4 separate regions of the Homo sapiens genome follow, and all the other regions are linked to region 2. Evidence: promoter capture Hi-C in 16 types of primary human blood cells and fetal thymus (Javierre and others, 2016). All regions are on one chromosome and are shown on one strand. The core of a region is centred on a gene start or on the middle of the fragment in contact, and the rest is flanking DNA. Distances in the headings are between cores, read along the strand shown. Region 1 holds the start of BET1 (Bet1 golgi vesicular membrane trafficking protein). Region 2 holds the start of SDHAF3 (succinate dehydrogenase complex assembly factor 3). Region 3 holds the start of RBM48 (RNA binding motif protein 48). Region 4 holds the start of KRIT1 (KRIT1 ankyrin repeat containing).

Evidence for each region. Contacts are between HindIII fragments. The CHiCAGO score rates a contact against its expected background, and 5 or more counts as called.
Region 1: a contact is called between the fragment with the promoter of BET1 here and a fragment that was not itself captured in region 2, in 5 of 17 cell types (naive CD4 T cells, total CD8 T cells, total CD4 T cells and 2 more). The highest score is 12.0, in naive CD4 T cells.
Region 3: a contact is called between the fragment with the promoter of RBM48 here and a fragment that was not itself captured in region 2, in 1 of 17 cell types (naive B cells). The highest score is 7.8, in naive B cells.
Region 4: a contact is called between the fragment with the promoter of KRIT1 here and a fragment that was not itself captured in region 2, in 1 of 17 cell types (total CD8 T cells). The highest score is 5.2, in total CD8 T cells.

Annotation. Positions count from the first base shown.
Region 1 is chr7:94,001,578-94,006,827 of GRCh38, forward strand. BET1 (Bet1 golgi vesicular membrane trafficking protein) reads right to left here and starts at 2,778. Exons shown (of 4, transcript NM_005868.6): 1 at 2,621-2,778. The coding sequence starts at 2,639. RefSeq lists enhancers at 1,988-2,594, 2,595-3,200, 2,655-2,704, 2,715-3,344. The HindIII fragment of the contact is 1,547 bases long and covers 1,909-3,455 here.
Region 2 is chr7:97,116,544-97,122,275 of GRCh38, forward strand. It overlaps SDHAF3 (succinate dehydrogenase complex assembly factor 3), which reads left to right and starts at 1,155. Exons shown (of 2, transcript NM_020186.3): 1 at 1,155-1,354. The coding sequence starts at 1,181. RefSeq lists enhancers at 813-892, 1,243-1,332. The HindIII fragment of the contact is 1,525 bases long and covers 796-2,320 here.
Region 3 is chr7:92,527,197-92,533,023 of GRCh38, forward strand. RBM48 (RNA binding motif protein 48) reads left to right here and starts at 1,599. Exons shown (of 5, transcript NM_032120.4): 1 at 1,599-1,728; 2 at 2,280-2,470; 3 at 5,208-5,353. The coding sequence starts at 1,618. PEX1 (peroxisomal biogenesis factor 1) reads right to left here and starts at 1,324. Exons shown (of 24, transcript NM_000466.3): 1 at 1,111-1,324. The coding sequence starts at 1,239. RefSeq lists enhancers at 743-922, 1,523-1,902 and a silencer at 1,153-1,382. The HindIII fragment of the contact is 3,452 bases long and covers 1,411-4,862 here.
Region 4 is chr7:92,241,932-92,247,770 of GRCh38, forward strand. KRIT1 (KRIT1 ankyrin repeat containing) reads right to left here and starts at 3,983. Exons shown (of 19, transcript NM_194454.3): 1 at 3,859-3,983; 2 at 2,971-3,240; 3 at 2,071-2,218; 4 at 103-206. The coding sequence starts at 204. It overlaps ANKIB1 (ankyrin repeat and IBR domain containing 1), which reads left to right and starts at 4,043. Exons shown (of 20, transcript NM_019004.2): 1 at 4,043-4,588. RefSeq lists an enhancer at 3,864-4,158 and a silencer at 4,089-4,478. The HindIII fragment of the contact is 4,029 bases long and covers 1,422-5,450 here.

The DNA of each region.
Region 1 (5,250 bases), core at 1,528-4,027, 3.1 Mb before region 2:
AGCTCTCCACATGTTTTATTATAAAAGAACTCAAGGAGTGGGCATATTTTTCCGCTCAGTCAAATATTAAAATCACCATTTAAAAATGCATTCTTACTCTGTTAACCAATGATACTCTGTGCAAACTGTAGTTTAATAAGGGCCAAGATACTTAAAGAAAGAATGTCTTCTTATTTTGTGTGGCTGAGGTTCTGAGTATATAACATTTACCCAATAAGTAATTACTGACTGGTTGAATTCAAACATTTGACAACTTCACCAAGGAATTCATTATAAATTAACTGCTATTTTTTCTTTCCTTTGTTTAGTTGCTTTTGCCTATCTTAATTTTAATTTTAGAGTTCTTCCATGCTGTTCCATTTATTCAAAGTGAAATTCTTGTTGTATTTATCGTCCAGAAATATATCAATGCACATTCCTATTAAAGAGTTGATCTTCCCTCAAACTATGACCCATCCCAAATACAATGACAAAAGTAAAAACCAAATAAAATGCTAGAATTGCTATTCCAAACAAAGCCACTTCTCTTCTGGTGGTGTACTGCTATGAAAAGTTGTAAAAAAGCTAGTGAGTACTGAAGATCATCCTCAGCCTTTGTTTATTTAGATAAACGCTACTTTTTTGGATAGGTTCTATCAGTAAGCTAACAAAACCATTTAGAGATTCATGTGAAGTGTGGCAGCTTCTGCCTATGGATATGTATCAGATTCACTATGATCCCAAATTTAAAATTTCAGGTCAATATGCATTCATACTTTAAAAAAAAAGAAAAGAAAAAATGTGTAACAAAAGCCTTTGTCACTTCACACCAATGTAAATTATAGCAATAGTAGTTACCTAGGTAATTACTTCTCCTCTCAATCACAGAAGAGCTTTTTTTTAAAAAAAAAAAAAAAAGAAAGAAAAAAAAAGGAAAAAAGGAGAAGGTAGTGGGCTCTAAATTGGAGAAATTCTAATTTTACTGGCTGAGCTGAGGTCCAGGTAACAATACTTTAAAAACTTCCCAAGGGATTCTAATGTACAGTCAGGGCTGAGAACCATTACTCAAGTCACTTTCCTGCAATTTAACATGGCACACTGCAGCAGGAAAATACTCAAAAGGGCCTAGGGGCCTACTGATGAAATCCAAACTCTTTGGCCTCGCATGCAAAGATCTCCACAGTGTGATCCCGAATCCCCTACTTCACCCAAACTGGCTTAATCATAATCCCTTACTTCTTTTGAGTTCCTCCTATCTGGAACTCACTTCCCCCACTCTCCATTATTCAAGGTCTACTTCAAATTCCTATGTCTCCACCAAATACACAAAGATCTTCCCCACAAAGTACACAGTGATCTATCTCTGAAATCTCTGAGACCATCCCTTATATGTAGAACTTATCTGGTATTTGGATGTATAGCGACACTTTGTACTACAATTTATCTTTGCACATATTCCTACTCCCCACCTAGACTGGAAGCTTTGGGGATCACAAACAGGGCAACAAACAACTGTATACCTAGAGCTTACTCAAGCACACAATAAATCTTTTTTGGTATTAAGGATGATGAACAAGAAAAACATTTAGACATATAAAGCTAAACTTGCTCAAAATTATTTCTTTTTTTTTTCTCTTCAATTTACCTGGCCCCATTTTCTATGATCTAAGTATTCATAAAAACTTCATTAAAAAAACAAAAAACTTTCTCATACTACAATTTATTGATCAATAAACAAGTCTACGGTTATTGGCAACTTTCACTGACTTTAAATATCTGACACTTTGGGGATTTTTTTTTTCTTTTTTCAATCTTATAATGACTGAGAAAGGTAATATCTTTTTTCAAATGTTTCATTTATTTTCTGAAGTATACTGCACTCTAATTTAGCGGGGTCTTCTTTAAAAAAAAAATCGTGTCCTAAGAGAAAGCTTCAGAACCAGAAAATGCCGTTCTAGTAGCTGTGCGTTACTATAAGGGTCCATTAAAATTCCTTGTGTCTAACTTATTCTTGCTGATGAGCCAGTTTCCTAACCCCAAAGGTAAAGATCAAATGTTAAGTCGCCAAACCTTAACCACGTTCTACTGCCTTAACCGTGGCACAAGGTTCAGATTAAGAAATCGCCTTTGACCCAGAAGTTCCAGTTCCAGGACCTTTAACAATAATGACACATACATTTACCTTTGTAACTCACTGTTACCAGATTAACGACCATTACTAGCGTGCTTTGGGTGCAACCACCCACTCTTCAAATTCCGCTTCTGAAGAAACTAAGATCCAGGGCCAGTAGGGAAACAGAAACCGGAGTCGGGCTTTGGAAAACATAGCAGCGTCCATAACCACGCTCAGTCAATAACACTAAAACACTCGACCACTGAGATGCCACCTGTACACACCCACCCCTAGTCCACTACTTTCTCTAGCCTACCATCCAAACTTGAATCTGACTCAAACTTAAGGAAATTCCAAAGATCTGGGACAAATGGTGTGTTTCCACTCGACATGGACCCCAAAGATCCCCTCTAGACATCCTGTTTTTTGGACCAAATGCCAGGAACATAAGACAGGTTCGATTTCCTCCCGCGCCCCAGCGCTCCCGGTTCTAGGGCCCCGAACTTCGAACCTCAGCCCTCTTCTTACCCAGGCCTGCACGCCTCATCCTGCCAGAGGAGAGAGAGAAAAGGCGGGTGCGGGGCTTTGGGTGAGTAGGAAACAGCTAGGGGCGACCCGGACCGCGTCTTCAGTACCAGGGCCCAGCGAAACACCAACTTCTTCCCCTAAAGCGCCACGACATCAGTGGAGTCTAAACACCGCGCCGGATGATGGCGTCACCACGGCGCTCATTGGAGCCCTGGGAAGAAGGTTGAAAGGCATTCTGGGAAATGTAGTTCACCAACGCATAACGTGTTGCTGAGGGCGTGATGTGAACCCGGTTCCAGGAGCGGACGGGGCGTCCGGAAAAGGGGGCGGCTTCGACTGCGGCTCTGATTCTGGGTCTCTGATCCAACGTTCCCGCTGTTCCGCTCGCAGCCCGCGGGTCGCTGCTTTCAGTTTGTTGACCACCAAGTTTAACCCAGCAGATCTGCTCCTCCCCACCCACAAGAGGATGGTTGGGGTATCTTTCCTGATTTAGCCTCGAACTCCCTCTCACCTCCAGAGACGATTCAGGGAAAGTTAGAGAAAACTTTGTCCAGGTTTCTCAGTTTACAAACAAGTAATCCGACACCCACAGAAGTAACCGATTTGTGCCTTGTAGTATCCAGTAAAGGAAAGAAAACCAGGTTCCTTTGAGTAGGACTCCTGCTCAGATGAGAGCAGACTAGGAAAGGCTGCGGGATCTGGTCAGAGGCACTGAATAGTTAGTTCCCTGTTACTGCATCTGTTGTACTTCTAGAAAGAACCAAGACTTTTAGTTGTTATGGGGACCAAAGGACCCCTAAACGCTCTCCCACTTTTTTTTTTTTAACTTACACAAAGCTTATTGAAATACTGCTTACACAAGGCAGTGTGCCAATTAGGGGTTTAAAACTTGTTGGCGAGTTGGAGGTGTTACTGGTATCGAGGTTAATCCTAGAATTTCATTTTATCTCAGAGGATTTATCGTGAGAATACGATGAAATCGTGGTTTTTGAAGGGAAAACAAAAAAACCTGATACACAGTAGGTGATCAAAATTCACTGGGTGTCTGCGGTTTTGTTGTTGCTGCTGTATATATGGCAGTGGAATCGTCTCCACACTAGAGATTTCCGAATATGTGATCTTTGATCATTTAGCGTTTCCTCATAGTTTCCCAGGACATTATTAACATTGACTATAATACTGGCATAAGTCTCTGCGTTAAGTTGCTTTTGTAAAAAACACATGAAAACAATTTTTAATAAGAGTTATTAACCTGGGAAGGAGGCTTTATCCAATAGTGTTTTGATAGAAAAAAATCATTAAAATAAAACCGCCATTTTCTAAAAGCAATGAAATTAAATAAGCATAATATCAGGGACAATTATTACAAATAAAAGATGGAGATTCAATAAAAGAAATGATAGCTAGGTATCCCTTTATAACTTAAAATCTGTGACAGTCCTTTGGTTAAAAAAATGCATGTTCTATAATTAAAACGTTTAAAAATTGCCTTACAGAAGGCTTGCTGATGGAAATGTAGAAATCGTTATTTTTGAAAATATGGTAATATTTACTAGAACTAATCATTTAGATTACATAAAATATACTGCTTCCTTTACATGGTAGGAAGACATAAGAATGAAATGTAGTTAAAAGGAAAACATATATAATGTACTAAGAATATAACTGAAGTAAGGCAAAGCTAGTTCATATTGAAGTTGTTACCTAAAAAATCCAATTATTGTTTTTAGCTAACGTTGCTAGTATCAAATTAGGATAATGTCATCTGAAAAAAATTTGCACTCAAAGGAAGAGGCAGGAAAAATGAACTCAATGTGCAGAAAAAGAATTATTAAATGTGACCATAGTTGACATTAGCGATCAGAGGGAATCATTTTCACTTTTCTCGTTGTGCTTTTTCCTTTTTAAATTAAAATCCTTAACTTTTCTTACTGATTGAAAGCAAATAAATTTCACAGAGATGAATAGCATTTAGAACCTCTTCTCTATTCTCACAGGATAGTCTCACAGAAAACATCTAATGTTTGTAGGTCTCTAGGAGATAAAGGACTAAAAATTACTTAAAATAATATTAAGTATTCCTTCTAGTAATTACAAAAGCAAGAATAAAAGCAGGAAATGTCTGAATCGAGGTGCAAAATTGGAACTTTTCTTTCTCCTATCTGTCTGCTTCCTGCCTGCCCATTTGTCCTACCTCTTCCTGACCAAATTTCAAGTCCAATCCAAGGGAAAAGAGCATACCAAGCTCTCAAAACTGGTTCAATAAACATTAACACATTTTTCAATCATGAAGCAAATTCAGTATCTCGGGTATCATATTTGAACTGTCACAAAATGTAAACTAGAAACAAAAAGCTCTTGATTTACAAACAAGCTATGGGACAAAGTTTGTTTCTAAGTTTGTTGTTTGGTATTTAAAGCACATTTTCCCTGAAGACTGAAATGATGGTCAGGTTCCCAACTCAGCCCAGAAAACACATGGCTGTTAGAGTTACTATGCTGGCCAATCAAAGTCTGTGTAACCCATAGGACAGCAGAAATACCGCGTATTTTCAAGACCAATAGAAGGAAAATAATGTTGTAATACTTGTGATAAAATAAAGCAAAGCCATTAAAGAAGAAATAGAGTG
Region 2 (5,732 bases), core at 308-2,807:
CATTATGACGTATTTGCCTTATATGCACATAGTCTGATCAGTTGGCAGCCTGTGATTGGCTGAAGCTCAGCTACTTGTCACAAGAATATACTCTCAGTTGCAGTTAATTTACATACTAAGTTAGGTTGCAGTTCCCTACATAGCAACTCAGAGTAGGGAGGAAATTTTAGGCCAAATTTAATTTAAATTATGTTGGAGCATGACCAAAGTTGGTCATGACCAGAAGCTGAACACAGATATGGAAGCTAACACAATATCCAGTGGAGAGAGATTGTGGTAGAGTACATGGGGCGAAATGGTTGATTTCTGCATTTTTGTTGGTGACGCCATCAGGATTTGCTGAAGAACCAAACGTGTGACAGGAAAGGACAACACAAGGAGCTGCCAGCTTTGGAAACCAGTTCTACTCTCAGTATTACCTTCGCAAAAGATAGAGCTTTGTAAATTTCTAGATTCCTCGTTCTTATTATCCTAGACTATTTAACCAGAATCTCCAGGGTCGTGGTCCTGGAAACAATACGTTTAAAACTCTTCCCAAGGATCCTTCAGCAGCCAACTTGACTTTGGCTAAGGAGTCCGCCAGCTCTGGGCTCACTTGGGTTGTTTGCAAGGAAGAGCCCATGCCCAGAGTATAAATTGGGAGAACAGCGCTGTGCAAAGAGCGTGGGTTGGTGAGCTAGTGGATGGCGAGATTAATCTCACTCTGATCCCTAAAGCAGGGTGCAGTAATACTCTAAATGCCTCAAATGGGTTGGGAACCATGGAAGGAATCCCGGAGGAGCCCGATCTTAACGAAGCTTTTCTCAGGCCTTTGGTAGGAGGACAGAAACGAAGTTGAATGAAAAAGACAGTGGAGTGGGACTGAGAAATGACAACGGCCCACCACAGACCTCTCTCTTTCAAGGCCTGTGTCGTCAGGACGCAGGCCAGAAGAAGCCACGACGAGGCGCAGGCGCGACTCCACGAGGGCCACGCCCCTCCTAGAGAAGGACCGACCCGTTTTCCGCCCGCAGCGGAGCTTGGGTTTCCGGGAGGACCTGATTGTGCAAGGGACCAAACCGGATAGAGGTCGCGCGCCCTCTTTCGTCTGCCTTCCGGTTCACTAATACGCAAGTTCGCAGAAGTGCGGGAACGCGCCGTCCCTCTGCGCAGGCGCAGTCGGCGGTCGGCGTGGGGCGCTATGCCGGGGCGGCACGTTTCTCGAGTCCGGGCATTGTACAAGCGCGTCTTGCAGCTGCACCGTGTTCTGCCCCCGGACCTCAAATCCCTGGGCGACCAGTACGTGAAAGACGAATTTAGGAGACATAAGACCGTTGGTTCTGACGAGGCACAGCGTTTCTTGCAAGAATGGGAGGCAAGTGACGCTCCCTTCTCTTTGCCCAAGACCTTTGGGGTTCCTCGGTGTCCAGGTTTCTAGTTCCAGTCCCCCATGCGGGGTTAAACAGAGCAGCAACCTGTTCTGTTTGAAATAGCGTAATGCTGTTCAGGTAACACTTTCCAAAGTTTCTCCCACGGGTTTCTCACTAGAGCAGATCCTGTTACTTCAGCGTCCCCAATTCAGTTCAACTTTTGAGCTCCTGCAGATGCCAGGTGCTCAAAGGGTGAGGGTAGGAGGTCACAAAAATGAGCAAGTCGTCGTTAAGTGCTCAAAAACCTCAGGAGCTTTTTGTCCTTTTAAGTGCCTTTGCACCTAGTAAGCGCCCATTAATAAATTAATGGTTCTCTTATTAGTTTTCAAATTTAAAGGCTTATTTCCGTAATTTATTATTTAATCTCAGCGCTTTTGGTTGGGTTTAAATAATTTTCTCACTTGGCTGATACAGAAATCAGGTAACATGAAAAAGATTACAAAAGGTTGGAGATTACAAACTGTGAAGGAGAAAAATGCTGGTGGCAGTTAAGTCAGGCGAAAGTTGTTTCCTCCGGTCTCAAGTCATTGTTACTTCGCCCTGCACCATTGCGCTAAATATTAAACAGACACATGCATTAGCAATAAGTCGTTTGACTTTTTTTTTTTTTTTTTGAGTAAAGGAAAAAAGATATTCAGAGTATTTCGTGGGGCTCGGGGCCCTGCAGGATTGCCCCTAGTTTTCATTTGCAAATATAAATAAATGAATGGAATTAGAGATTGGAATGACAGCTCAGATATTTGAAAGCATGAGTTGGAGCTGATATGAAAATAGAGGTAAGCGGTTCTTCGGCCTAAATAGTTGAAGGGGAGATGACTGAAGTCGGCTTTGTAAAAAAAAATCAAAAGAATGGTTAGGGTGAACACAAACTTTGCACTGACTTCCAGAATTCTTTTTTGTATAATTATTGAAGCTTTTAAGAGCGACATTTAGAACAATCGGGAAATTTAGAACTTTCTTGAAAATCATGGTGTATTTGATGTAATTCGCTTGCCTGAAGCAGGGAAGTTGAAGCTTTTCAGACACAGAGCACTTTATTTTAATAAGGTAATTTGGTTTTGGAGCCTGAAGAACTGGATTCAGATTCAGTCTCTGACATTTTAAGTGTCAGATCACATAATTTTTCTAGTCTTATTTTCTCATCTATAAAATAATAAGTGTTTATGCATCTCAAAATTTACGTATGTAAATGTATTTACAAGCACTTGTGTATTGCTAATTGTTATGAAGCTATAAGATACTGTATTAAAGTATTTTACATCTTTTATGGTAGGTCATTTTGTGGCCGTACAGGAAGGAGAGTAGCTCTCTGTTGGGAGGAAATAAGGTTATTTTAAGAAGTCTTAAAATGTAAGCACATGGAAGCCTCTTTGGGAAAAAGTAGGAAAGAGTAGCAACTCAGAAAAAATTGATAATAGGTTGTAGGAGAGAGAGAGGGTATAAAAAAGAACTGCATAAATAAAAAATGTGTTAGTTGACCTAGTAGGCTTGGTAACTGGGATTGAGCTTTTTAAAACTTGGAATAATTTTAGACATACAGAAGAGTTAGAAAGACAGTAGAGAGTTCCCTACATCCTGTTTCCCCCTGTGTTAGCATCTTACATAATCAGGGTACAGTGATCAAAAACAAGAAATTAACATTGCTACAATGCTGTTAACTACAGACTTTATTTACAATTTGCCAGCCCTTTCACTAATGTCCTTATTCTGTTCCAGGATCCAATGGGGATTCTACAATGCATTTAGTTATTCTTTTTCCTTAATCTCCATTCTGTGACAGTTGCTCCGTCTTCCTATCTTTCATTACCTTGATACTTTTTTGAAAAGTACTAGTCTGTTACTTTGTGGAATGTATCTCAATTTGAGTTTGTCTGATGTTTTCTCATGGTTAAATTGATGTTATGCATTTCATAACATCTCAGTAAGAATACCACATGGGCAAAGTGTTCGCCTCAACACTTAATGTCAGAGGGCACATGATACTAACATGACTTCTTACTGGTGATGATAACTGTGATCACTTGGTTAAAGTAATAATCCACGTGGTGTCTCTACTGTAAACTTACTATTTTCTCTTTTGAAATTAATACATATTTGGGGGTAGGTACTCTCAGGCTTTCAGATGATTACTAGTCTTAGCATTCATTGATGGATTTTGCCATTGTGTTCCAATGGTGGCTCTTTTGTTTCCCTCATTCCTTCTGAATTTATTAGTTGACACGCGTCTGTAGAGAACAGTTTTCCTGTCTTCCCCGACCATTGTTGATCTACTGGAATTAATGAATTGGCAGCTGGGTAAAGATAAATTTAAACGTAGTAATCTCTTTGTATAACATAATTATCACAGTTACAAGGCAGCTTAATCTAAGCCTGGGAGTTAGACGTGGTAGGTTGGATCCTACCAGGAAAGATACTTGAAGAACTGGTCTTTTTGAAAGAGTAGGGCTAGAGAAGATGCTAATGATTGGAGGGGAGAAAAACCTGGCTAGAGAAGTTTTATCACCAGAGAGTAATATACTTAAGACTTCCAAGTCTTTTTCCCCCCCACCTGTTCTTCAAAATATCTAATTTATGATTATGTTATACTAGATACTGCTAGACATGACATGGATTTTTATGCCTTTATTTTTCAGTTAGTGCTCATTACAAACTTGGCACCTGTTGTTTGAATATAACTTAATGGTTACGTTTACATCAAACTAAGAGTAACTGTTGTGGACTTCTAACTTAATATGTAGAGTCTGGTCTACACGATCCCAGTCCCTCACACACATCTAAACTTAATTATGGACTTGAATGGATTCTGAATTTGTTTTACATCAGGGGCAACGTTGGGTATAGTTGCCACTGGAGAAAAGAAAGGGATCAAGAACACTAGAGGCCCCATATTTGGAAGAGAGTTCTCTAATTCTCTTCATTTGTGATCCTGGAAAACTGGCAATATAATAGTAGAGAGAATTCAGCTGGGGGAAGTTTTTGTTCAGGGACCAAGTGGGGCAACGTGGAAGGAAAGTATTTTAAGTATAGAAATGTAAAAGCATGTTTACAGAGTAAATAGTGAATTTATGTAATTTCTCACCATAAGAGAAAAAATTTAAGTTCAGGAAGAGTTTTTGGGAATCTATGAAGGGAGAATGTACGATAACTGGTTTGTAAAATGTGCATTGTAATCTCAACTCTTAGGAGGTAACTATTAGAAGTGAAATTGAGACTCCATAGATCGGGGGTCTTACTACGGCATTTTAAAAGTTCTGACTGTGCTCATTTTTGAGGAATAGTTGTTTAAGGCTTTCTATTTTTCTCTCTGTGCCTACCACTTATTTTCTAGGAAATCAGAATAAGCATTGAAGATTAAATAGATAAAACATGTTGGTGAGAGAATATGAGACAAAGAGCACAGAAGAGTGTGCTCTCAGGAGCTACCTGAAGAGACTTCATTTATTTTTCTTTTTCTGTCCCATGTATTTTTCTGAGTTGTCTCTTGCCTAGTTCCTGTTGTTTTTCTTAAGTACCTGTTCTGTGTCTGTTGTGGAATATTTTTTAACTGTTTTGTTTCTAGAAAAAGGCAGAAACATTTTTCAGATAGTTTTGATCACTTACTATTTCCAGACAATGTGCTAGGCATTTAAGACACAAAAATGAATAATAAATGTATTTTACTTTCACAGTGTTCAAAGTTTAGTAGAAAAGGATAGACAATTGTAATATAGTATGAAAGAGTGTCTATTAAATGCTGTGGGATCAAGGAGTAATGGAGGAAGTTGAAAGCTACACAAGATGGTTAAGTCTTGAGTAGGTCAAATTTACCATATCAAAAAGAGAACCTTCTAGAAAGAGGGAATAACATATGCAGAGGCATCGAGGTAAGAAACAGTATGAGGTTTTTTGGTTTTTTTTTTTTGTTTTTTTTTTTTTTGTTTTTGAGATGGAGTCTTCGCTCTATCGCCCAGGCTGGAGTGCAGTGGCGTGATCTCAGCTTACTGCAAACTCCGCCTCCCAGGTTCATGCCATTCTCCTGCCTCAGCCTCCTGAGTAGCTGGGACTACAGGCGCCCACCACTGCGCCCAGCTAATTTTTTGTATTTTTAGTAGAGATGGGGTTTCACTGTGTTAGCCAGGATGGTATTGATCTCCCGACCTTATGATCCGCCCACCTGGGCCTCCCAAATGCTGGGATTACAGGCGTGAGCCACCGCGCCCGGCCGAAACAGTATGACTTTTTTCCAGGAACTGCAGTGTTGTGTTTGGAATTTAGTGTTTTACGCAGAAGATGAGGAAGAAATAAAGCTAAAGAGGTGGCAGGAGACAGGATATTCTGCTAAGG
Region 3 (5,827 bases), core at 349-2,848, 4.6 Mb before region 2:
GAATGTAAGGTAACAACTACATCTTAGGATCAAATTAGAGTTACTGTAAGAAAGCATTCCTACTATTAAGTGCAGATTTGAAAACATGTTGAAAAATCCCATCGAAGCTGACAGAGCACTGAACCAACTTCTACCTGGAACTTGGTGACAGTGACTGATTTGTCTCTAGCCATAAAGCCCATCAAAAACCAAAAGATTGTCTACTTAGTGGTAAAAAATAATAACGACGATGATAGGAGGATTCTGCTGAACTCATGTTTTCAGTGGACCAAAAATATCTTCCCCTAGGTATGGGGAAGTAACTCAAGTGGAAAGAAGGGATGCTTGAAATTATTGCAAACTCTATTCATTGCATAGATTAGCCACTGGTGGGTACCATGCATCCAGGATTTATGAGGATTTCAAATACGCCGTCCTTTTGCCCCCATAAGTACACTCAAACTCGTGAGACCATGTGCCTCTATTTTTAATTATGAAAATATGGACGCTGTATCTCCACCAGTGGTTAGAACTGTGAAACATCCTAACCACAACGTCCAGAAGGGCGACTGATCGCAGAGCTTCAAGTGATCTTAACTACGTTATGTGTTCCTAACACACTACAGCTGTGTTCCGCGTCAGCGACGCAGGGCAGAACCATCATTGTATTAACCTTTCCCGCTCATGGGACGCGGTGCTTAGTCCCCGGGAACCGACAGGGGCTCCGCCAACAACTCTGCGTCCCGCTCTCGCGGCCCGGACGGCAGCAGCGCAGGTTAACTGGAAATGGCTGGCAAGGAAAACACCTTTTAAAATAATAAAAACAAACCACTTCTCAGGAGCTTTTCCAGCCTGGAATAAGGAATATTTATAAAAACAGTGGTAGAATATTAGGACGTTTCTAGGTTCAGTTTCACCAAGTGAAAAGACCTGGGATAAGACGAGCCCAGGGCTGCACTGGACTTGTGGGATCCAGAGACTACCCAGAAGGGCCCTGCCGTCGAGGGACCCTGATCTCTGCGCGCTTCGGCGGCGCCCGGGTGGCAGCCGGTGTCCCGCCGCGTCCCTGAGAGGCTTCGGCCTCGTCCGACCCCAGGCTGAAGATCAGGTGGCTCGGGGCCGGCAGGTTACCTGCAGCAGATGCAGCTGGGCCACGAGACGCCGCGGCAGGTGGAGGAAGCAGTCGCGAGCGTTGGTGAAGGCCACAGTCACTGCCGCCCCGCCTCCCCCAGCACCCGCCAGGCGATCGCTGCCCCACATCGTCCCGGAGCGTCGCTCTGGGTTCGCCCACCCTAGCGCCGCAAAGGACCCGGGACCCGGCAGGCCGAGGACGTCGGAGCCGGAGGAGATCGATCGGCCCCGCCCCCTGCGGCCCCGCCCCCTCTCCCCGCTGCGCATCCTGCCGTAAGCCTGTAGTGGGTGGGACAAGAAAGCTTCTGTCACCCACCGCGCCTCTCCGCCGAGCCGCTCGGGGGCGGCACCTCGTTCATCAAATCTTCGCACGCAGGAAACGATGGCCGACGCTGTCGATTCTCCAGCCAATCCTGGCACTCCTTAACTCATCCCGCTCTCTTATTGGATAAAAGGGAGCTCAGTAGGGCGGATGTTGTCCTCCCTGCGAGGATCAAAGTAGGCAAGATGGCGTCGAGCGGCGGGGAGCTAGGGAGTTTATTTGATCACCACGTCCAGAGGGCGGTATGCGACACACGGGCCAAATATCGAGAGGGACGACGGCCTCGTGCTGTGAAGGTAAAGTGATTTTGGTTTCATTCGCTCTCCTCGGTAGCTTTATGTGAGTGCTAGCGCCATATGACCAGCCTACGGAAATAAAGGCACGACAAGGCTTCCGTCAGATCTGTCTCTCGTTAGAGCTGGCGTGAAGAACCCTCGGTCAGTTACCAAAGATTCTCACGACGCCTTTGGTCAAGTATTAGAACATCAACTCCACGAGAATAGGCCTTGGTTTTAGTCATTGGATCTTCTGTGTTTACAGTACTACTTGGCACAGGTAAGCACTCAGTGAATATTCGTTGAGTGATTGTTCCCAGTGACTTCTACCGACTCAATTTCTGGAAAAAAATGTCGACTGAAGGTAGTCTGTTATATGCCTTAGGTAGCCTCTCACATGGACTGTTATTCTTTATGCAGAAGGAATGGCAGAAATTTCATTTTGTGTTCTTTTGCTGACTGGGTTGAACAGATTATTTCTTGTTTTCAAAGTTCTCTTTAAAAAAAAATAGAGGCAGATTCGTCCTAGGCTTATTTGCGAAATACGTTTAATAACTCTGCATTTCTTTCAGGTATATACAATCAATTTGGAATCTCAGTACTTATTAATACAAGGAGTTCCTGCTGTGGGAGTCATGAAGGAATTAGTTGAGCGATTCGCTTTATATGGTGCAATTGAACAGTACAATGCTCTAGATGAATACCCAGCAGAAGACTTTACTGAAGTTTATCTTATTAAATTTATGAACTTACAAAGTGCAAGGTAATGTGCAAGTTAAGAAATGACTCATTTCCTCATTTCTTCCATTCATATTTCTGTCATTTTGGCCCCAAGTTTCCCTCATTCATAACTGAATTACCCCAAAACGTAATCTAGCATATCTTCCTCCAGCCTTTTTAAAAGTTAACTTTACTGAAACACTGTATCCATCACATCATTCCCATGCTTAACAATTTAATGTCCTGTAGCTTGGTAGAGTAGAAGTTGGGTTTGGCCAGGCACGGTGGCTCACGCCTGCAATCCCAGCACTCTGGGAGACCGAGGTGGGCGGATCACGAGGTCAGGAGTTTGAGACCAGCCTGGCCAACATGGTGAAACCCCCCTCTCTACTAAAAATACAAAATTAGCTGGGTCTAGTGGCGCAGGCCTGTAATCCCAGCTACTCGGGAGGCTGAGGCAGGAGAATCGCTTGAAACCGGGAGGCAGAGGTTGCAGTGAGCCGAGATTGCGCCATTGCACTCCAGACAGGGCAACAAGAGGGAAGCTCTGCCTCAAAAAAAAAAAAAAAAAAAAAATTTGGGTTTGAAGCCTGGGCGTGGTGACTCACGCCTGTAATCCCAGCACTTTGGGAGACCGAGGCAGGCAGATCACTTGAGGTCAGGGGTTCAAGACAAGCCTGGCCAACATGATGGAAACCCCTCCTCTACTAAAAATACAAAAATTAGCCGGGTGTGGTGGTGCGGACCTGTAGTCCCAGCTACTCAGGTGGCTGAGGCATGGGAATTGCTTGAACCTGGGAGGTGGAGATTGCAGTGAGCAGAGATCATGCCACTGCCCTCCAGCCTAGATGACAGAGCAAGGCTCTGTCTCAAAAAAAAAAAAAAATTCTGGTTTGACGCCAGGCACGTGGCTCACACCTGTAATCCCAGCACTTTGGGAGGTCGAGGTAGGTGGATCACCTGAGGTCAGGAGTTCAAGACCAGTCTGGCCAACATGGTGAAACCCTCACTCTACTAAATACAAAAATTAGCCGGCTGTGTTGGTGCAAACCTTTAATCCCAGCTCCTGGGGAGGCTGAGGCACAAGTATCACTTGAACCCAGAAAGTGGAGGTTGCAGTGAGCCAAGATCATGCCATTGCACTCCAGCCTGGGCAAGAGTGAGACTGTCTCAAAAAAAAAAAAAGAAAAAGTTGGATTTGATCCCAGCACTTTGGAAGGCCAAGGTAGGCAGATTGCTTGAGCCCAGGAGTTCGAGACCAGACTGGCCAACATGGCCAGTATTTTGTATTTTGTAAAAATACAAAAATCAAGCTGGGTGTGTTGGTGCATTCCTGTAGTTCCAGCTACTTGGGAGGCCGAGGTAGGAGAATCAGTTGAGCCCAGGAGGTGGAGGTTGCAGTGAGTCTTATGGGCCACTACACTCCATCCTGGGTGATGGAGTGAGACTCTGTCTCAAAAGAAAAAAAAAGTTGGGTTTGGAGTAAGTTTTCCATTTCCACTGCTTACTAGCTTCATGATCTTGGGCAAGTTATTTAACCTGTTTAAGTTTTTCCTCTTCCATAAAATCTGTATGGTAAAGGGACCTATCTACTTCTTGGGGTTGTATGAGGATGAAATGAGATAATCCATATAAAGGTGTATCCTGGTCAGAATACAGTAAACATTAGCTATTGTGGTTTCTACTGTTACTCCTTTCTGCAAACTGACTCAGTTTTTTCCAGCCTTCTATGTGACATAATCCTCTGCTCCAAAAAGGCTGAAGTATGCAGTGCCTTATCTATTTTTATATTGATCTCTGTTCTCCTCACTAATCTGCTCTGAGACCCATCCTTCTCTGGCTATTACAATTCATATTTTCTTTCTTGTGCTATCAGTAGAACTCATAGTCTACCACAAAAGCACTTGATTTTACTGGGTCTTGTGTGGTTTTCTCAGGCTGCTGTTATATGTAATTTCACTTTCTTAACCAACCTGCCAGCTCCCATGGTTAGGGAAACATTTTCTAGAGCTTTTCTGTTTTCTATAGTACGTAGTCTGGTAGGCTCTGAAGTAAGACATCTGGATTTGAATCCTTGCTCCTCAAACCAGACTATGAGCATGGCTAAGTTACATAATGTCCCAGTGCTTCAGTTTCATTACAGTGTTGTTTTTAGGTGTTAATTCAAGTGAAGCGCTTATGACATTGCCTGGCATATGGTGAAATCTCAACAAGTATTTATCATTATCCCTGGATATAGAAGTAGTTAAATTTATTGTAGTACCTGGCCAGTCATAGATGTTTAGTAAGTATTTATTGACTGAATAACATTCTTCTCATTTTCTCATTGTTATATATTTAATAGTTCCTCAGTTATTGAATGTTTTATGATTATAGTATCTTTCATCTGATTTTTAAGGCATGAATCCCATCACAGAAATACATAGTGCTGAAAAAGCTTAATTGGGTATGAACCAACTCTTCAGGGCCACAGAGAAAAGCTCCATTTTATGACCACAGTTTACATACTTCAGGCCAACCAGCTGGGTCCTTAGTTGTTTAAAGACTAGGGAACAAAGAGGCTCAAAGGGAAGGAAAGGGGAGGCTCTACGAGTACATACTCGATCAATGGGATGAATACTGTCCACAAGCAGAGCATCTTAATTCCCAATCCACAGGATATATATACACGTAGCAAAAGCTGGACTTTGCTCTTTAGATCCAGATATTGCATACTAGTTAAGCTTTCATCCCAAGTAAATCTAGATTAAAAAACTATGCTATCTTGTATTTCCATTCAGGACAGCCAAGAGAAAAATGGATGAACAGAGTTTCTTCGGTGGATTGCTTCATGTGTGCTATGCTCCAGAATTTGAAACAGTTGAAGAAACTAGAAAAAAACTACAAATGCGGAAGGCATATGTAGTAAAAACTACTGAAAATAAAGGTATGGAAAGCATATTGCTAAATGCCTCCTGTGTGTCAGGCACTCTGCCAGGTGTGTCATCATGCAATTCCCAGTCTAGTGGTAGGAGAGGCAAGTAAACCATCACAGTATTCAGTAACTGTGAACCACAGGGTTCTCTGCAGCACACTACATAATCTGGGTTGAGAAGGGAGAAATATTGGTTCATAGAAGACTTCCTATAGTATGTGAGAAGTGGCTGAATTTTAAAGGATAAGTAGACGTTAACTAAATGGGAGAGGAAAAGATGGAAAGGCAAGCCAGGCAAGATGTTTAAATGTTTAGAGGAATAAATGAGCATCATGCATTTAAGGAACTTTAATTAATACAGTATAACCAAAGCCCAAAGGTTTCAGTGAGAGATAAGTTTAGAAAAGTGGGTAAGAAGTGAATCATGGAGGGCCTTGTGTCCCATGCTAAGGAATTAAGGCTTTGACCAGAATGCAGTGAGAAGCA
Region 4 (5,839 bases), core at 2,733-5,232, 4.9 Mb before region 2:
CTTGTTAATACAACTTTACAAGATATAATAAGGCTTTATATGTGAATGATAATACAGAATGACATTCAATGGTAGAAATAAATTATTATTAAATGTTCTTACTTCATATGACTTAGCTCTGTATTCCCGAGAATTGAGACTGGCAGTATTCTTTGGACGAATAACAGCAACATATGCATCTTCTATGTTTTCTGGATTTCCCATTGCTTTACAAAACAAATAAAAAAATCCTTTGAAAGATTAAATGACACATTTGATGGCAAGATAAAAAAAAGTAATGCATCTTAAATTGAAAACTTTTATTTCCACATAATCATGTCGAAAAAATTAAAAAAAAATAAAATGTTCTCTATCCTAGAATATACAGTGCCTAAAAGGCAAGCCAGGAATGACTTTGACTGCATCTTTACTGTTCAACTACTCAAAACCTTAGCTGATAATTTAAGATTTCCTTTGTATTTCTTTTTTCATTTTAAAATAGGGTTATACATTTTCATAGGTGTTAACTGCATAGTAAGAATCTGCCTTTGGGGCCAAAAAAAAGTGATGATGATTATAAAATAACTTGTAAATAATGACTTGAAATAGTGATTCAGAATAATATACACTTTTTCCATAAATTACAAAAGTGAATGTTAGTTATACTGTTAACAGTTTGGAAGCTGGAAATGGTAGATGTTTTATATCCATTGACATTTACTCCAGAACTTTCAGCAAGGATAACTTTGATATCAGACATTTGGATGAGCTAAAGCGTAGTATGTAATTTTCTTTGGAGTTGCTTATCACAGAACCAAAACTATTTGGTCAGTTGATAAAAGCTTTCTGAAGGTGATTTAAGAATCTTTTCCATTTCCCTTATCAATTTCCTTGATAATCCAAATTTTTGTTTTGTTTTGTTTTAGACAGAGTCTCGCTCTGTCACTTAGGCTAGAGTGCAGTGACAATCTCGCCTCAATGCAACCCTCGCCTCCCGGGTTCAGGCGATTCTCCCTCCTGCCTCAGCCTCCTGAGTAGCCAGAATTAACAGGCGTGTGCCACCATGCTCGGCTAATTTTTGTGTCTTTTAGTAGAGATGGAGTTTTACCATGTTGGCCAGGCTGGTCTCAAACTCCTGACCTCAAGTGATCCACCTGCCTCGGCCTCCCAAAGTGCTCGGATTACAGGCGTGAGCCACCACACCTGTCAATAATCCAAATTTTTTATTCCAAATATATTCACTGTGTGTGTGTGTGCGTGTGTGTTATGCATATACTTTGTCCCACTAAATCTTAAGTCTCCATTGCGCAATTTCCAACAAGTGACTGAATTTCAACCACAATCTTAGTTGTATAATAGTTTTCTTCATTGAATAAATTTCTTTCATGGCTACACTAAAGTGCATCTTTCTGTACTGATTATTTTTTATCTTTTTTTGAAAAAGCTTCTCCCCATTTATTTGTCAGTAAATTTCTAAAAGAACATTAAAGAGTTTCTTTCCCAGCTATGTTGAGATGAACTTTCTTCAGTTTTTTAAAAACCATTAGGCATTAAAATTACCTGTTCATATTTAATGAGTTCCCTACTGCTGCAACTCTCAAGATAGACCATTTTCAAGAAAGGGTTTTGAATGTTATTTGAGAGGCGATAGAGTAATTTATCCTGTTTCTTCCACTGCAACTGAAAATGTCACTCTGTAACTTTTAATTCACTTCCCTAAATAATAATTAAAAAGTGCCTTATGATTGTAAAATTACCCTAAGAAGAAATTCTTTTAAAATACAGTAGCTTTTGGCATTTTACATAAACTTTAGCCTAAGATTAAAACAACCATTAAAATTATTGTACAAAAATTTTAAATAAAATAATTTAAATACTTTTCAAATTTATTTTAAATTCTAAAACTTTCCATTGATTTAGATCCAAAAAAACCCTACAGATATTTCACTAGAAAAAAATACAGTGACACATTAGGATAGAGACATTTCATTGTGTGAAAGGTTTTGAGGACGTTATCATTCTTTATCATTATATACTTCATGAAATTTTTTTCAGTTCAATTTTTTGTATAAAATCATTCTTAAAACCCACCTCATGCAACAGACCTTCCTACATCATGTGAAAAGGATGAGGCCTTTTTCTTCTCAGAATTTCTATTTAGCAATTACTTTTCACCACAGATTAACAATGACTTCAAGATAATAAACGTTTACAAATTATGAGACAGACGCATTGAAGACTGCAAGCCCCAAAAAGAAAGACATTGTATTGTGAATACACTGTATGATATATGGGCACAATTACAGAAACCATTTTATCTATTAAGGACCTAAAAGAAAAATCAAGTAACTCTTACTTTTCTAAAGACAATTTAAAGCAAATCAATTCCTGTCTTGGTCAACTCATGTTAAGAAAACATTTACTAGCAAAGTACTTTGTCAATACTCATCACTTCTCTAGAATATTTAATTAATACTGCACAGAAGCCTGAACTTTTAAAAGGTAAACAAATGTGATTTTAAAAAGACATAACTATGACAGTAACAGTATTTTGTTTTCTTAAACCAAATACTTTTTTACCATATCCCCAAAATATTCTTAAAATTCATTTTCAAGAACTATTCGTACTTGACTACTTAAAATCTACATTCTTCCAGTGACATGAAAGAAGGAAACAAAGGCTTAACAGGAAAATAACAAAAGTAACTAACATAGGAAGGTAAAACTGCTAAGGGAGAAACACAGACAAACTGATAGAAAATGAGTAGCTTGAACTAAAATACAAGAAAGGTATAACTAGAGTTTGCAATATGTTTAGACTGAGTCTGAGATGAGGGTTCAAGTGAATAAGTACAGGAAACGTGGCATTTTGTTATATGGCTCACTCCATTCTGGAAAATGTTAGGCACAAATGATAATATGCTCCCTAAGTAATAAGATCTTATAAATAAAGCAGTGGAAGTGGTCCTTAATTAGGGGGGTGGCACCTACCTGGGATCACTGGAAAATATGGAGGGCATTTCTGGTTGTCACTATGACTGATGAGGGGAGATGTACAACTGCCATTTAGTGTCCATGGAACAGGTTTGCTAACATCCTCTTAGTATGCTAGACAGCGTTTGCAAACAGAAACTGTAAAGGCACATATGCACTCCAGAAGGGTAAGAAAATAATGAGGCTGAGATCCTGAGTTGGACCACCGAGATGAAAGACTTCTGGTGAGGCTAAAAACATGTAGAAAAAGCGATGAAAGCCAAAAACCTTAAAAGGTGGAGAAAAGTGTAGAGGCGAGAAGTGAGTTACAGGGGGAGAAGTGAGTTAGAATGACAAGCTGTGAATCCCTTTCCCTGCAATGACAAAAATACGTAATCACTCTGCCTGGGAGGTTTTTTCCTGCGCCACCACCCGTCAACGTCCACTACTGGGGAAAAACGTAAGCCTCTTTGCTCAAAGAGTTTCCACCCAAAAAGTGGCTATGGTTTCTCTGTAACTACATGTGAAAAATAAACTCCTTGCCTGGGGCAACTAGATGTGGAGATGGTTCAGTCTCCCACCTCCGTTTTCCCTCGCTGGAGTCGAACTTGCTCCTCCTGTTTCCCGAAGGACACCGAGAGGTCCCACCCGTACGGGCTGCCGCGAGTGCCTCTCTGGCCGCTACATTCAACTAAATGGGTGGGACAGTCACCTGGCGAGGGGGGGCAGGGACCGTCACCGCTTTCTCATTCCTCCTTCCCTCCTCCCAGGCACAGCAGCCCGGCCCAGCTTCCTGTGGCAGAAAAACCCTCAGTCGCCAAAAGAAAGCCGTCTTGAGGGTTCCCCCGCGCTCCCACCCGCGCCCCAAAAGCTCAGGTCTCTGGAGTCGGAGACCCTCCTGCCCACCTGCTCTTTACTGTCCTTCCCTCTCCTCGCACCTCAGCACCATTCACCCCTCACCCTCTCCCGAAACTACGGGGTCCCAGGTCTTCAAAGGCCTTAGCTTTCCACCCCGCCGTTACCGTGGCTATGAAATCGCTTCCGGGTTCACACCCTTTGCAGCCTCGCGGTTGGCGGTGAAAGAGCTTCCGGGTCGGCGGCCGGGCTGCTGCCGTTCCTGCTCCTTTTCACTGGACCTGCAGTCTCTCAGGGGCTGGTGGCAGGCGACTAGGAGACTAGGGTGGTGGCGGTGGGGGTGCCAGCGGCTGAGCCGGAGCCGGAGCCGGAGGCGGGGGAGGGGAAGAGGGCGGCCGGGGCTGCGAGCGCGCAAGGCTGGAACATGAGCCGGGCTTGACCGCGAGGCGGAGGCAAGAGCCACCGCCCCCTCTTCCCCTCCCCCGAGTGAGGCGGCGCAGCGGCCGGAGAGGGATGGGGGGCGCCCACCCAGTCTGAGCCTCGCCGCGGGCGCCTTCGGCTCACGCAGCGCTTCCCGCGGGCCGCCAGTGCGCACCCTCGGCCACATCAGCCTCCGCCTGGCGGGTGCACCCGGGCCGGCGAGGAAGGGGCAACCGTCCGGGTGGGTGGGGCGGGCTGGGTACCTGAGGTCACCAGCTCGGCTGTAGAGGCAGGGGCGGCGGAGGCGGAACTGCGGAGTTGCTGGGTCCACCGACCCTTACCCTCAGCGAGAGAAGTAACCGTAAGTCTCAGCTTCGCGGTACAGATGTGTTTGAGGCTGCCTCTACCCATTTGTGGCTCCGAGTTCAGAGCTACCTACTTCACACCCTCCCGGATCTACTAGGAGTGTGTCTGTCGCCTGTTTTGGAGCATTGTTGTTCTGTCTGTCCCCATCCCTGAACAGGCAGCATTCTCTGCCCTACAGGGCTTTTCTCCCAGCGAATTTGCAAGCCTCCGGGTCTCCGTGACGCGTCCCATCCTCCCCATCTGGATGCATCTCCTTGTCCCTCTGTCCTCAAAGGATCTGTGTCCTTCCTCGCAGCCTCCCCCCCACCCCCATCCTTTGAGACGTGGAAAGCCACGGGTTCTGCCGACCTCGGGGGCTAGAGAGAGTCTTGAGAAGCGGATGGGTAAAAGTGCTCTGCAGGGCTGTGATGGGTGGGGATAGGTGCAGATGGCTCCAGTGAACCTTTATTTTTGCAGCTTCTGCCACCAAAACAAAAGAATGGAGCGCTCCCCTGTATTCTTATTCTTCTCCGTATGTATGAGCTGTTTTTCTGTACGTAGCTGTTTGAGTCGCAGGAAATTGAAACTAGAGCTGTAATAAAGCATCTCCTGAGGAGATTTTGAGAATTAGTCTCCCAAGCTCTATTCACACGGAATGGCATATCGAACAATCTTGTATTGGAATGACCATTTCAGAAGAGCTTTACTGGTAGATCTGACAGATAAATGTAAAGATAAGAGTCTGCTGTTTCAAATAGTGTATTTTAGATACCTTTAAATTTTAGTGTTCTAATTTTCATCTAGTTCTTAATTTGTGAAGTATGTGGGTATGTGTAAGGTGTAAAAATCTGTGTATTGGAAGGTTTTGCTTTGTTACAAGCTTTTGCTTTGTTGCTTTTGAGACAGACGTTTAAAGATCATATTAGATTGTATTTGATAATTATTTTCAATCATTAATTCCAGAGAAATCTTTTTTTGTATCAGCCACTCACAGATGTTACACACCTTGGTGCCTATGACCCTCCTGCTGCTTAAACTGTGAATGTCTTCAAAGTATATTTTCAGATTTTTGAACTAGGCGTTTTTTCTCATTAGAATTTGATTTGCTTTTCAAACTGCTCCTGCAGAACTTTCCAGAAATTAGATTTAAAAATAATTTTAATGCTGTCAGTGATTGGACAATAGCTCTTATATGACTTTATGCATTTGCTACTTTTCAGAGCACCATAGGAAGCAAACGATAATTTAAGAATAATTTTACTGTGTA